Linked DNA regions of Homo sapiens: all the other regions are linked to region 3. Evidence: promoter capture Hi-C in human tissues and cell types (Jung and others, 2019). All regions are on one chromosome and are shown on one strand. The core of a region is centred on a gene start or on the middle of the fragment in contact, and the rest is flanking DNA. Distances in the headings are between cores, read along the strand shown.

Region 1 (2,700 bases), core at 164-2,663, 310 kb after region 3:
CTTCCTGCTTTCCTAGAACCTAAAGCAGCTCTGGCACTCCCCTTTCCTTCATCCGCAAATCACCCAAAGTCTGGAAGCCCCACAGTGAGTATTTAAACTTTTTTTTTTTTTTTGAGACAAAGTCTCGCTGTGTCACCCAGGCTGGAGGGCAGTGGCGCAAGCTTGGCTCACTGCAACCTCCACCTCCTGGGTTCAGGTTCAAGCAATTATCCTGCCTCAGCCTCCTGAGTAGCTGGGACTACAGGCGCGCACCATCACGCCCAGCTAATTTTTGTATTTTTAGTAGAGACGGGGTTTCACCAGGTTGGCCAGGATGGTCTTGATCTCTTGACCTTGTGATCCACCCACCTCGGCCTCCCAAAGTGTTGGGATTACAGGCATGAGCCACTGCGCCCGGCTGAGTATTTAAGCCTTTAAGATCAATGTTCTGAACACTACACAGATACCACAGTAAAAGGTTATATAATGTTAGAATCATTTAGGAATACTTTATTCCCAGTACTGAAACATATAAAATATAATTAGATATTCTTAATAAAATCTGAGGAACATTACATTGAGAACTCCTAGTTTGAGAAAGTAATAAGGATTTCCACTATTTTGGAAGAGGGCGCTTTTCGATTATGATAGGACATGTCATTTAGCAGAAATTTCATCTTTAAAACACAGAGAGGGAGCCTTTTCTGTCAACATGGCCAATAACCAAATCTTCATCCATAACAGACATTAAGAAGATGAAAACCAGCACAAACTAACACATCTGTTGATGTCACAGATCCCACAGTCTGGCTGTAGGAGGCGCATCTCACAAACAGAAGAGGAATATTCTCTAGCAAACATGTACAGAAATGTTTAACAGAATGCTACTAGCTCATCAGTGCTGAAATGGGTGCAAACAAGAATACCATACATAAGCTTATTCATTTTCCTATTCAAGGTCTAAAAGAAAAGAATTAGGCCAGGTGCAGTAGGGCTCACACCTGTAATCCCAGCACTTTGGGAAGCTGAGGCAGGAGGATTACTTGAGGCCAGGAGTTTGATACCAGCCTGGGCAATATAGAGACCCCATCTCTACAAAAAATAAAAAATTAGCTGGGTGTGGTGGCACACACCTGTGGTTCCGGCTACTCAGGGGGCTGAGGTGGGAGGATTGCTTGGGCCCATGAGGTCAAGGCTGCAGTGGGCTATGATTGCACCACTGCATTCCAGCCTGGGCAATAAAGAAAAAAAAAAAAAAAAAGGCCGGGCATGGTGGCTCATGCCTGTAATCCCAGCACTTTGGGAGGCCAAGGTGGGGCGGATCATGAGGTCAGGAGACTGAGACCATCCTGGCTAATATGGTGAAACCCCTGTCTCTACTAAAAATACAAAAAATTAGCTGGGCGAGGAGGAGGGCGCCTGTAGTCCCAGCTACTCGGGAGGCTGAGGCAGGAGAATGGCATGAACCCAGGAGGCGGAGCTTGCAGTGAGCCAAGATAGCGCCACTGCACTCCAGCCTGGGCAACAGAGCGAGCCTCTGTCTCAAAAATAAAATAAAATAAAAAATAATTTTTAACCCCCCCCCCCACAAAAAACCTCTGAACCTTTATACAAAAGAACAAAAGCGGCCAGGCGCAGTGGCTCACGCCTGTAATCCCAGCACTTTGGGAGGTCGAGGCAGGCGGATCACAAGGTCAGGAGTTCGAGACCAGCCTGGCCAACATAGTGAAAACCTGTGGTGTGCTCCTGTAATCCCAGCTACTAAGGAGGCTGAGGCAGGAGAATCGCTTGAACCTGGGAGGCGGAGGTTGCAGTTTTCCAAGATAGCGCGATTGCACTCCATCCTGGGTGAGAGAGTGAGACTCTATCTCAAAAAAAAAAAAAAAAAAAAAAAACATAAAAAATAACAACAAAATCCATGAGAATGACAAGGAAAGGAGTAATTCAGCAAAGAAAATCATCATTGGCTTCGGTATCTAAAAAAACAAAGCATGGCTTCTAGTCTCTGGATAAACTGGTCTGATATTTCCAGGGGTCTGTACTCTGTGCTGTGAACGGCTTTAGAGCTCCGCTGGGCATTGCTGATGTGTGGACTGTCCCGCTCACTGGGTGCCAGGCATGGCCCCAGGTGCTCCACACCCTCTCCTGACCCCTGCACAACCCTGTAGGCCTGTGGGATTAGATCAGGTTCTGAGGCTCAGAGAGGCTAAGCTATAGTGGCAACACAGCTGCGTAAATGGCAGAGTGGGGATTTAATTTTTTTTTCTAACTTGAAAGTCTGTTGCCTTTGTACTCTACATATCTCTTGGGTATTTAATTAAGACAAGTAAATGCATTTACCACTCTTTTTACTATTCTATAATGACCATGAGTAACGCATTTTACTATCAGCCAACAACTCCAGCACCTATTCCATAATGACCATGAGTAATGCTTTTTACTGTCAGCCAACAATACCAGCACCAAATAAACTGATACTGTTAGAATACAATGCACTTTGCCCCTGGAGTATGCTTCCAAGGGATCCTTACCTGGTGCTCCTGTGTACATGATGGAAAAGACATTGATTGCTATGGTAGCAGCATAGAATACTGGGAGTGCCCGGAGGCCATTGGGAACAGGGTCTTCCTGTAGGAAGACAAGGAGACAGAGTGGAAGGTCAGGATCCCAGCAGCATTTGGAGCCAACACAGACAAAATGATACAAAATACTGTTACAAGA
Region 2 (2,700 bases), core at 53-2,552, 260 kb before region 3:
TAAGTCCTTCACTTCAAAGAAGGAAAACTATCTTCAGTTTTTAAATTTTTTGTGGAGACTGGGTCTCACCATGTTGCCCAGGTTGGTCTTGAACTCCTAGCCTTAAGTGATCCTCCCATCTCGGCTCCCAAAGTGGTGGGATTACTGGCATGAGTCACTGTGCCCAGACAGGGAAGGAAAGATAGCTTCAGCTTTGACTCTTCTCTCAGTGCCTAGCATAGCTTTGAATATCCTAAGGGCACAACCAATACCTGGGGGAAGTAGCCTAGTGCTGTGGGCTGTTAATAAGCTTTGGAGTCAGGTGCATCTGGGTTGGAGCCCAGTTCTGGGGTTATCAACCTATTGGGCGACAGAGTGTGACAATGCATGTCATGCACGAGGAACACTGGAGACCCTCATAAGTGCAGGCACCTCCCTTGATAAAGAAAGAAGTTTTTTTGCAAATATCATTGTCAATGCTCGCCAATGGATGCAAAAGCAATTGGACATGTACTATTTCCTTGGTAAAAACACAGGGAAATCTTTGAGAAGAAGAGTCCAGTCACATTGGAAGCAAATGAGAAGGAAAGAATGGTGCTCTCTTTTTTTAATTGGCTGGCCATTACATCTTTGCTTTCACTTTGAGTGTCTCCAATGCAAGTTTTCCTTTCTTGGAGAATGTGCTGTGCTTTGTGCACCCAAGATCCAGAGAGTCTCCGCCAGAGGAATCCGGTCTCCCCACAACACCACACATTCCATTATCTGTGACAGTTCACACCCAGATTTACTACCTGTGGATCTAACAGCCATAGGAGTCTCAGCAAAGTTAGGAAGCCCTTTTATGTTCCCCTCTGATATACAGCACTGGTGCCACACAAGACTTCAATAAAGCTTGCAAGTATCTAAGCCCACCTGGAAGTTATTGACGAACCCATGCAGATTACTGCGCAGGTCTGCAATAAAAATCCTGTCCAAATAGAAAATTCATTTTTTTTCCTGAAAATGAAATGAAGATATGATTTAAAGTATCCTTTTCTCATTTCCCAGTACTGAAAGAATAACAAGCTGGCCTTCCCCGGCAAACCTCAAGACTTCACAATACCATTGGAAGGCCAGGAATGAACTTTGGTAAAGGATTTATTAGAAAGAATAACTTTATGAACAATCATTATTTTATTAGCTATACTCCATTAAATATATGGGAGTTTTAAAATTTACAAAGCACATTCTCATTTATTATCTCATTTGATCTTCATCCCTATTTTACAGATGAGAAAACTGAGGCTGGAGGAAATTCAGAGGCTTGTTCATGCACACGTAGCTGATACATGCAAGAGCTCAAACTGGAACCTGGGCAGCCGACTCCATGCCAGTGTTCTGTAGGAGGTGGAGTTTTGAGCTTCTCAAGAACCAGAAATGGAGATAGAGAGCCAGGCAAAGTTGATCTGCCTTTCTCAAAAAAACAAACACTGGCTGGGTGGGGGCACAATGGCTCAAGCCTGTAATCCCAGCACTTTGGGAGGCCGAGGCAGGCGGATCACTTGAGGTCAGGAGTTCGAGACCAGCCTGGCCAACATGGTGAAATGCCGTCTCTACTAAAAACACAAAAATTAGCCAGGCATGGTGACACGCGCCTGTAGTCCCAGCTACTCTGGAGGCTGAGGCAGGAGAATCACCTGAACCCAGGAGGCGGAGGTTGCAGTGAGCTGAGGTTGTAGCACTATACTCCAGCCTGGGTGACAGAGCGAGACTCCGTCTCAAAAAAAAAAAAAAAAAGAAAAAAGAAAAAAAGAAAAGAAGAAAAAAACAGTGACAATAGATTTTATTTCAGTCAGAAGAATTCAAGGTGGGGGAAACAATAGATTTACTTGGTACCAATTCTTTAGGGCCAACTCTCTCAAAATCAAAAAGAACAACTAAGAAAAAAAACCTGTACTAGTTAAATGTAGCTTTTCAACCAATTCAAGCCATAGATATCTAGTGAATGGTTATGTACAAAGGCTCAAGTGTTGGCTTCAAAGTGCTTACAATTTAGTAGAAGAGATAAAACAAGAACTTCTGCATGTGCATGTGTGTATGCGTGGAAGGTGCAGAGAGAGCAATGGGGTGGGGGTAAGGAGGGGACAGATATGAAAGGTTTCTTGCAGGCGACAGTGTTGGGCTTTGACATTGAAGGAGGAAGGAATCAATAACAGGATCACCTATTCAAAGGTGTTGCCAAAGCAGACACAGGGGCAAGCTAACACCGATGAAGAGCGCCTGTACATAGGACACACTCGCCACTACGTGCTCATTTTTATTGTGAAAATAGGGAAGAAACCTCAGATGAGTTTGTTTTTTTTTTTTAAGTGTTGCCACATTGAGAGGAGAGGAGCAGAACTGGTGAGCCAGCAGCCTTTGCTGGGGTGAGCAAAAGAAACGGGGAGACACTGGAGGCCAGCTCGTGTCCCCTGCCCAGGGAGGTGACTTGCTCCAGGCTCTGAATTTCAGCTGCTGCTGCACCTGCTCTGAGACAGTCCAGCACTAGATGGTTTGCACATCACTTGCTCCTCACAGTCACCCTTCACAGAGGTGGAGCAGCAGCCAAAATTCAGAGTGTAACATCTTCTCAGCCCTCAAGACCCTGCTCTCCTGGTCTAGCCTATGGCTGGGAAGTGAGGAGAGATCCTGGGAACAGCCCCCACCACTGCTACCTCTGCAGCAGGGAGGGAGGAGCTGAAC
Region 3 (2,889 bases), core at 384-2,883:
CATCTGCAGAGCCTTCCTTATGTACTTTTTTCTCTGTCCATCTATCCCTGCATTTGAGGGATCCTTTCTCATTTTCAGGTTTCAAGGTAGAGGGTCTTCCCTGACTCTAGGTCAGCCATCTCTACAGCACTCCTCCCACCCCCTATGCGTTCCTTATTCATCACACTGCATTGCAATCCCTTGCTTCTCATTTGTCTTTCCTGCTGGGCCCTGTAACCACAGGGACAATGCCTGTGACAGCAGTCATTGCAGCATCTCCAGCATCCAGCACAGGTCGATACGTGGGGGTTTTCGGCAAATGTTAATTCAGTGAATGAATGAGAAATTCTCACGGCAGCGACTGCATTTCTGCACCTTCGACACACATTATCACGTGTTATTGTATCTTGTGCTGTTCCTTAGGGCATAACAATTGCTAGCATTTTCTAACTCAATCCTCACAACTCTAGGAGGGAGGTACTATTCACGTTCTTATTTGAGAAGTGAGGAACTTGAAGTTTAGAGGAGTTACAGTTCTTTCTCACGGTCACTCAGGTTGTAAGTGTTGGAGCGGGTTCAAGCCAAGTCCTCTGGCACCAGCGTCCCTAAGCCCACCCAGAGTCATACCATTCTGCCATTTTGTTTCTGGCTTTTCTTCATAGTTCAAAGTCAGCCAACTACCTGCCCTTAGCAAGCGTGGAGAGAACCCCCCGCACCACCTCAGCAAAGGGCTTGTGTGTGGAGGAGCTGCCACCCACGCTCCATTTCACCAAAGTGACAACTAATGCTAGGGAGGGCGAACCTCTCATCGGCGAGGTCGCCACTGTCACCAGCGCCCACTGCTGGGTCCAAGGCTGGCGACGCCTCACCGCATCTGGGCTTGACTTCCTGCGTCACTGGGGCGACCCCTGGTCCTGACTTCCACTCCACGCCTTCGTGGATCAGGACGACTGGGACCACTCAAAAGCGTATCCAAGTCCTGAGGTCTCCAAAGCGGTGGAGAGACCCGCCCAGCCCCTCACTCCCCGGCTGGGAACTGAGATTGTGGAGGGTGGGCGCCCTGCCGCGGCCCAGTGGGGCTGGGGGCTTCCAGAGTCGGGGTCCAGGGCTCGGTGTCCGAGACTCCACCGCCAGCCGCGCCGACCTGACCCACGGCCGGGTACAACAGAGAAGGCGGCGCTTCCCAAAGGCACCGATGGAGTGCAGGGTAGCCGCCGCCCTCAGGATTTATCAACCGCGAGGCGCTGTCAGCAACTCGTGCCCGGAAGCCACCCCGCCCCGGCACACACATACTCCAGCGCCCCCTCCAGGCGCACTCCGCAAACACGCGAGCGCGGCGACCGCCCCAGCCCTTTGTGACTGGATGAGTGGGGCCGAGCAGCACGCACTGTCTTCGACCTCCAATCAGGACTCGGGGTCTCGGAGCTGTACCAATCGGAGATGACCGTGGCCTCAACAGGGCCAATCGGGGGACTCGAGCCCGACAACAGGGCAAGCCGCCAACAGCGATCAATCAGAGGGGAGGAGCGGCTCCCAGATACCCAATCAGCGGCCTTCAGGCGCAGATCGTGGGCGGAGCGGTAGCCAGGCCGCGGGCCGGCCAATCAGCGGGCGAGCGGCTGCCTCAGCGCGCGCGGCGGGCGGGGCGGGGCCTGTCCGCGCCTAGGAGCAGTGGGCGCTGAGAGCAGCAAGGCCAGGTGAGGAGTAGGGACGACCCCGAGCCTGGAGAGGGGGCAGGAGTGGGGGCGCGCGAGGGTCGGGGCGGGGTCTCAGGATGCAGCCGGGCGGCCTCTCAGGGCTGCGGACGCGGCGGGGAGAGGTGAGGGGCCGGGTTCAGAGTTCGGGGAGGGCGTCCTTCCCGGCGCCGCGGCTGCGGGCGGAGGGGACACTGTTGCCATGGCAGCGCACGTGCGCTCGCTGGCGCGGCCCGGCACCCCTGCGCTCTTCACCCCGGAACGCGCGTGCCCCTTCAGCCAGGCCCCTGCCCGCCTGCGCCCCGCGGCCTCCGTCGCCGCCGGCTCTGGGCCGGGGCCTGCGCAGGGACCGCCTGCCTAGGCCGCTGCCTCTCCCTCGCACCCCGGGCTGCCTGGCTGTCTCTCCCTCCTGCTGTCTCCTCCAGGCGGCGCTGGGCACCGCAGGCCTCTGCGTTTTGACCACCCGCGCCGGTTCGCGGAATGGCCACATCCTGGCGACTGGCACCAGAGAGATGCAACCGTCTGAGGGCCTTGGGGTGTCTGTCCCCCAGGGAAATTTTTTTTTTTTTTTGGAGGTGGAGGGGGCGGGGTTCTCCCTCTGTTGCCCGGGCTGATCTCGAACTCGTGAGCTCCAGCGGTCTGCCCGCGGAGGCCTCCCTAAGTACTGGGATCACAGGCGGGAGCCCCAAGGGATCTTTTTAAATGTCTTACTGCATTAACAAGTGCCTAAGGAGTGCTCAGAGAATAGCTCTGATTGGATGAATAAAGACCCCCAAGGGCAGCTTTCCATTCCTCCCACCAATTCTGGTGGGCAGAAATAGAAAGCAAACCACATATGTAATTGTACATGTTCTGGTAACCACTTTAAAATAATAAAACAGGTTAAATTAATTTTAATATATTTGATTTAACCCAGGATATCCAAAATGTTATTACAACATATAATCAATATTAAATTATTGGTAAGATATTTGAAATTTTTTTTTTCATGCAAAGCCTTTCAGATTTGTCGTGTGTCTTACACTTAACAGCACACCTCAGTCCGCACCAGCCACCTTTCAAGTGCTCGCTGGTCCCATAGTGGCTATCGTATTAAGCTGCGCATTTCTTGTGTATGTGTGAGCTGTTGCCAAAACATGACATCAAATTCAGTGTTCTTGGAAGCCCTCTTCAAAGAACACTGATTGTGTTGCAGTCAGGCAACGCAAAACATGAG
Region 4 (2,818 bases), core at 17-2,516, 340 kb before region 3:
GTGCAGTGGTGCAATCATAGCTCACTACAACCTCGAACTTCTGGGCTCAAGGGATCCTCCCACCTCAGCCTCCCAAGTAGCTGGGATGCACCACCCCACCCAGCTAATTTTTTATTTTTTGTAGACACAGGGTTCTTGCTATGTTGCCCAGGCTGGTCTTGCCCTTCTGACCTCAAGCAGTCCTCCCACCTAAGCGTCCCAAAGTGTTGGGATTACAGGCATGAGCCACCAGGTCTGGCCAATAATATTCTTATTTACCAAATTTTATCGGTTACATGAAGTTGAAAAGCACTTTGGTTAATTTCTCTTTTTCTGAGAGAACAATTTTTATAAACACTTATTTTTCTTTAAGCCAATTAAATAGACCTTATCCAGAGATAGAAAATATCACATTACATGACATACATACATACTTAGACATACATAACCATATAGATAGAAACAGATCTTACTAAATTTTAACCATGTGCCAGATACAATAATTCAAAACTCACTTATAAGAGAATAGCTGGATCTGGCAAATGGGACCAGTGAAGTTTCCCTGCTCAGGTGGCTCATGCTTTTGTACTCAAGACTTGTCATTTGCCAGTTTCCAAATAGTTTCTTTTTTTTTTTTCTTTTTAACCTGAGAATCATCTCCCTGAAGTTTGCACTTCAAGAAGGATCTTGATAAGATCTTAGATAAGACAGGTTAGAAAATTTACATCTCAAAAGCACAGAGAAAGAATTCAAGTTTTCAACAGGAAGGAGTTTTGGGGGGCACATTTGCCTATTATCAGAAGTCTAGGATAAATCTATTAAAACTTTTCCTTCTTTTTCTTAAATGCAAGACACTTTTGTTTCCAGTGTTCTGATTTGCTGAAGTTTTTGCAAACATCTTGAGATGAACAGGTGAGGTTTGGGTACTGGTAAGAAGGCTAGGTGGGCTTTGAATTGCTTCCAGAGGCACATTCCTGCTGTGATAAAGCCTCAATGTGTAAGACGAGGACAGTTGTTTTTAATTCCCCTAAGAACTGGGTTGCAGCCTGAATGTCAAGGTGCTGACCCATCCATCCGATCTTCAGTTTGCTCCTTTATATCAAGAAGCAGATTTCCAACTAGGATGGAAACCAAAATATTCCTCTGTTCTAGAGTTAGAGCTATTTGTCTAGAAAAGTTTTAATAAACTGTTTTCTTTCTTTCTGAGTACACAGTTCCATTTTAGCTTAGGAGGGAAGAGCTAAAGGAAAAAATTCCTATCATGCTTTATATAAACCAAAGCTCTAAACCGAAGATATACCTAACAAGTGACTCAAGACCAAAACAAACATGCTTTTCACCACTGAACCATGAATGCATGAGGCATCTCCAAAGAGAGACAAAAAAGATGCAGCCCTTTCACAATCCAGGGCCACTCCCAAAGACAGCCACGGAGAGAAACCCTGAGACGATGCTCCTGAGAAGTGGCAAGAGTTGGTGTGCCAGCTGCCAATGGGCTGCACCCATGTTTCTGTCCGGCCACATTCTTGGAGATTTCCAACCTTTTGGATGGCCACCTGCACATACAGGCCCAATAACCCACGTGCCCCCGCTGGCTGCAAAGTCAAACAAAGTTCTTGGGGAAGAAAAAATAAAAGAAGACGTATAGGAAAGCAATAACTATCCACGGGAGGGAAAGGGTTAATAACTAATGGGTACCCCAACACCAAGACTCAATTCAAACCCATTCCTACAAATGTTTCCCGCCTGAGCTAATGGAATTTACTGAGAAAATGGAGATTTGGAGGAGTAAAGTTTTAAATCAGGGGCCCAGAGCTCCAGAGTTCTTCCAGAGGGTCAGGACCAGGGAGTTGTGGATATAAGAGAGCACAGAAGAGGAATTTAGGCCAAATTTAAACAATTTTAACTTGGTTCTAAACTTGATTTCTGCTTTTAATCTTGCTAAAGGGGCCCTAAAGCTAATCATTAAATCCATTATGTCTTCTTTTCAGTTGGATTATACCATAGGTATCAGTAATACAGTTGTTTAGGATGTGAGCTCTCTAAAAATTTTTTCAAATATAGCCAATTTATTTATCCCAGAGGTAGTGACTCAAACCAATAAGTCTTTCTTTCTTTCTTTCTTTCTTTCCTTCTCTTTCCCTTTCTTTCTCTCTCTCTTTTTCTTTCTTCTTTCTTTCTTTCTTTCCTTCTTTCTTCTTTTTCCTTTCTCACTATATTGCCCAGGCTGGTCTTGAACTCGTGGGTTTCAGCAATCCTCCTGCCTCTGCCTCCCTAAATGCTAGTGAGAGAGGAGAATGGAAAAAACCTGGTCAGGCAGGCAATTAAAGTGTGTCCTTGGTTGAATTCTTTCAAACAAAAGAACAGTCCACAGGCACAGATAAGGGATTGTGCACAGCGGGGCTTGCCTAAGACACGCCCACAGCTGCACAGATAAGAAAGCCTACACAGGTAACTTGCCCAGACATGCCGGCAATGGAAAATTCTGTTCCCTAACATATGCACAGTAAAGGTAACAAAGCAATATGGAGTAACTCAAGCTAAGGGCCCGCATGCACACTAGAAGGACAGGGTAGATCTACCAGCCTCATTGATGCCCAGACCTCACTGGTTTCTCATAAATAAGCCTTTGCATTCAACTGTAAAAACAGCAACCCTCTTCTGGGTCCCCTCTCCACAGCAGAGAGCTTTCTTCTTTCATTTGTTAAACTTTTGCTCCAACCTCACCCTCGGTGTCCACGCTTCTTAAATTTCTTGGTCGGGAGACAAAGGACTTCAGGTACTACCTCAGGCAATGAGAGACTGCTACACTGTGGTGCACTGTCGAGACTGTAACACT

Evidence for each region. The method cuts DNA at HindIII sites, captures the fragments that hold promoters and counts their contacts. A contact is called where the count stands out against the background at its distance.
Region 1: a fragment that was not itself captured here is called in contact with the fragment with the promoter of AP3M2 in region 3 in 1 of the 25 tissues and cell types used here (H1 embryonic stem cells).
Region 2: a fragment that was not itself captured here is called in contact with the fragment with the promoter of AP3M2 in region 3 in 4 of the 25 tissues and cell types used here (dorsolateral prefrontal cortex, heart right ventricle, mesendoderm cells and 1 more).
Region 4: a fragment that was not itself captured here is called in contact with the fragment with the promoter of AP3M2 in region 3 in 1 of the 25 tissues and cell types used here (neural progenitor cells).

The regions. Positions count from the first base shown.
Region 1 is chr8:42,457,386-42,460,085 of GRCh38, forward strand. It overlaps SLC20A2 (solute carrier family 20 member 2), which reads right to left. Exons shown (of 11, transcript NM_001257180.2): 5 at 2,511-2,607. Among named protein-coding and RNA genes, the nearest start is that of SLC20A2, 42 kb to the right of the region's middle. The HindIII fragment of the contact is 6,800 bases long and covers 1-2,700 here.
Region 2 is chr8:41,888,971-41,891,670 of GRCh38, forward strand. It overlaps a transcript of ANK1 not described here. Among named protein-coding and RNA genes, the nearest start is that of ANK1, 93 kb to the left of the region's middle. The HindIII fragment of the contact is 3,254 bases long and covers 1-2,700 here.
Region 3 is chr8:42,151,430-42,154,318 of GRCh38, forward strand. It overlaps AP3M2 (adaptor related protein complex 3 subunit mu 2), which reads left to right and starts at 1,634. Exons shown (of 9, transcript NM_006803.4): 1 at 1,634-1,676. RefSeq lists an enhancer at 590-709 and a silencer at 1,540-2,149. The HindIII fragment of the contact is 9,480 bases long and covers 1-2,889 here.
Region 4 is chr8:41,816,490-41,819,307 of GRCh38, forward strand. It overlaps a transcript of ANK1 not described here. Among named protein-coding and RNA genes, the nearest start is that of ANK1, 20 kb to the left of the region's middle. RefSeq lists enhancers at 1,883-2,818, 2,189-2,818. The HindIII fragment of the contact is 8,264 bases long and covers 1-2,818 here.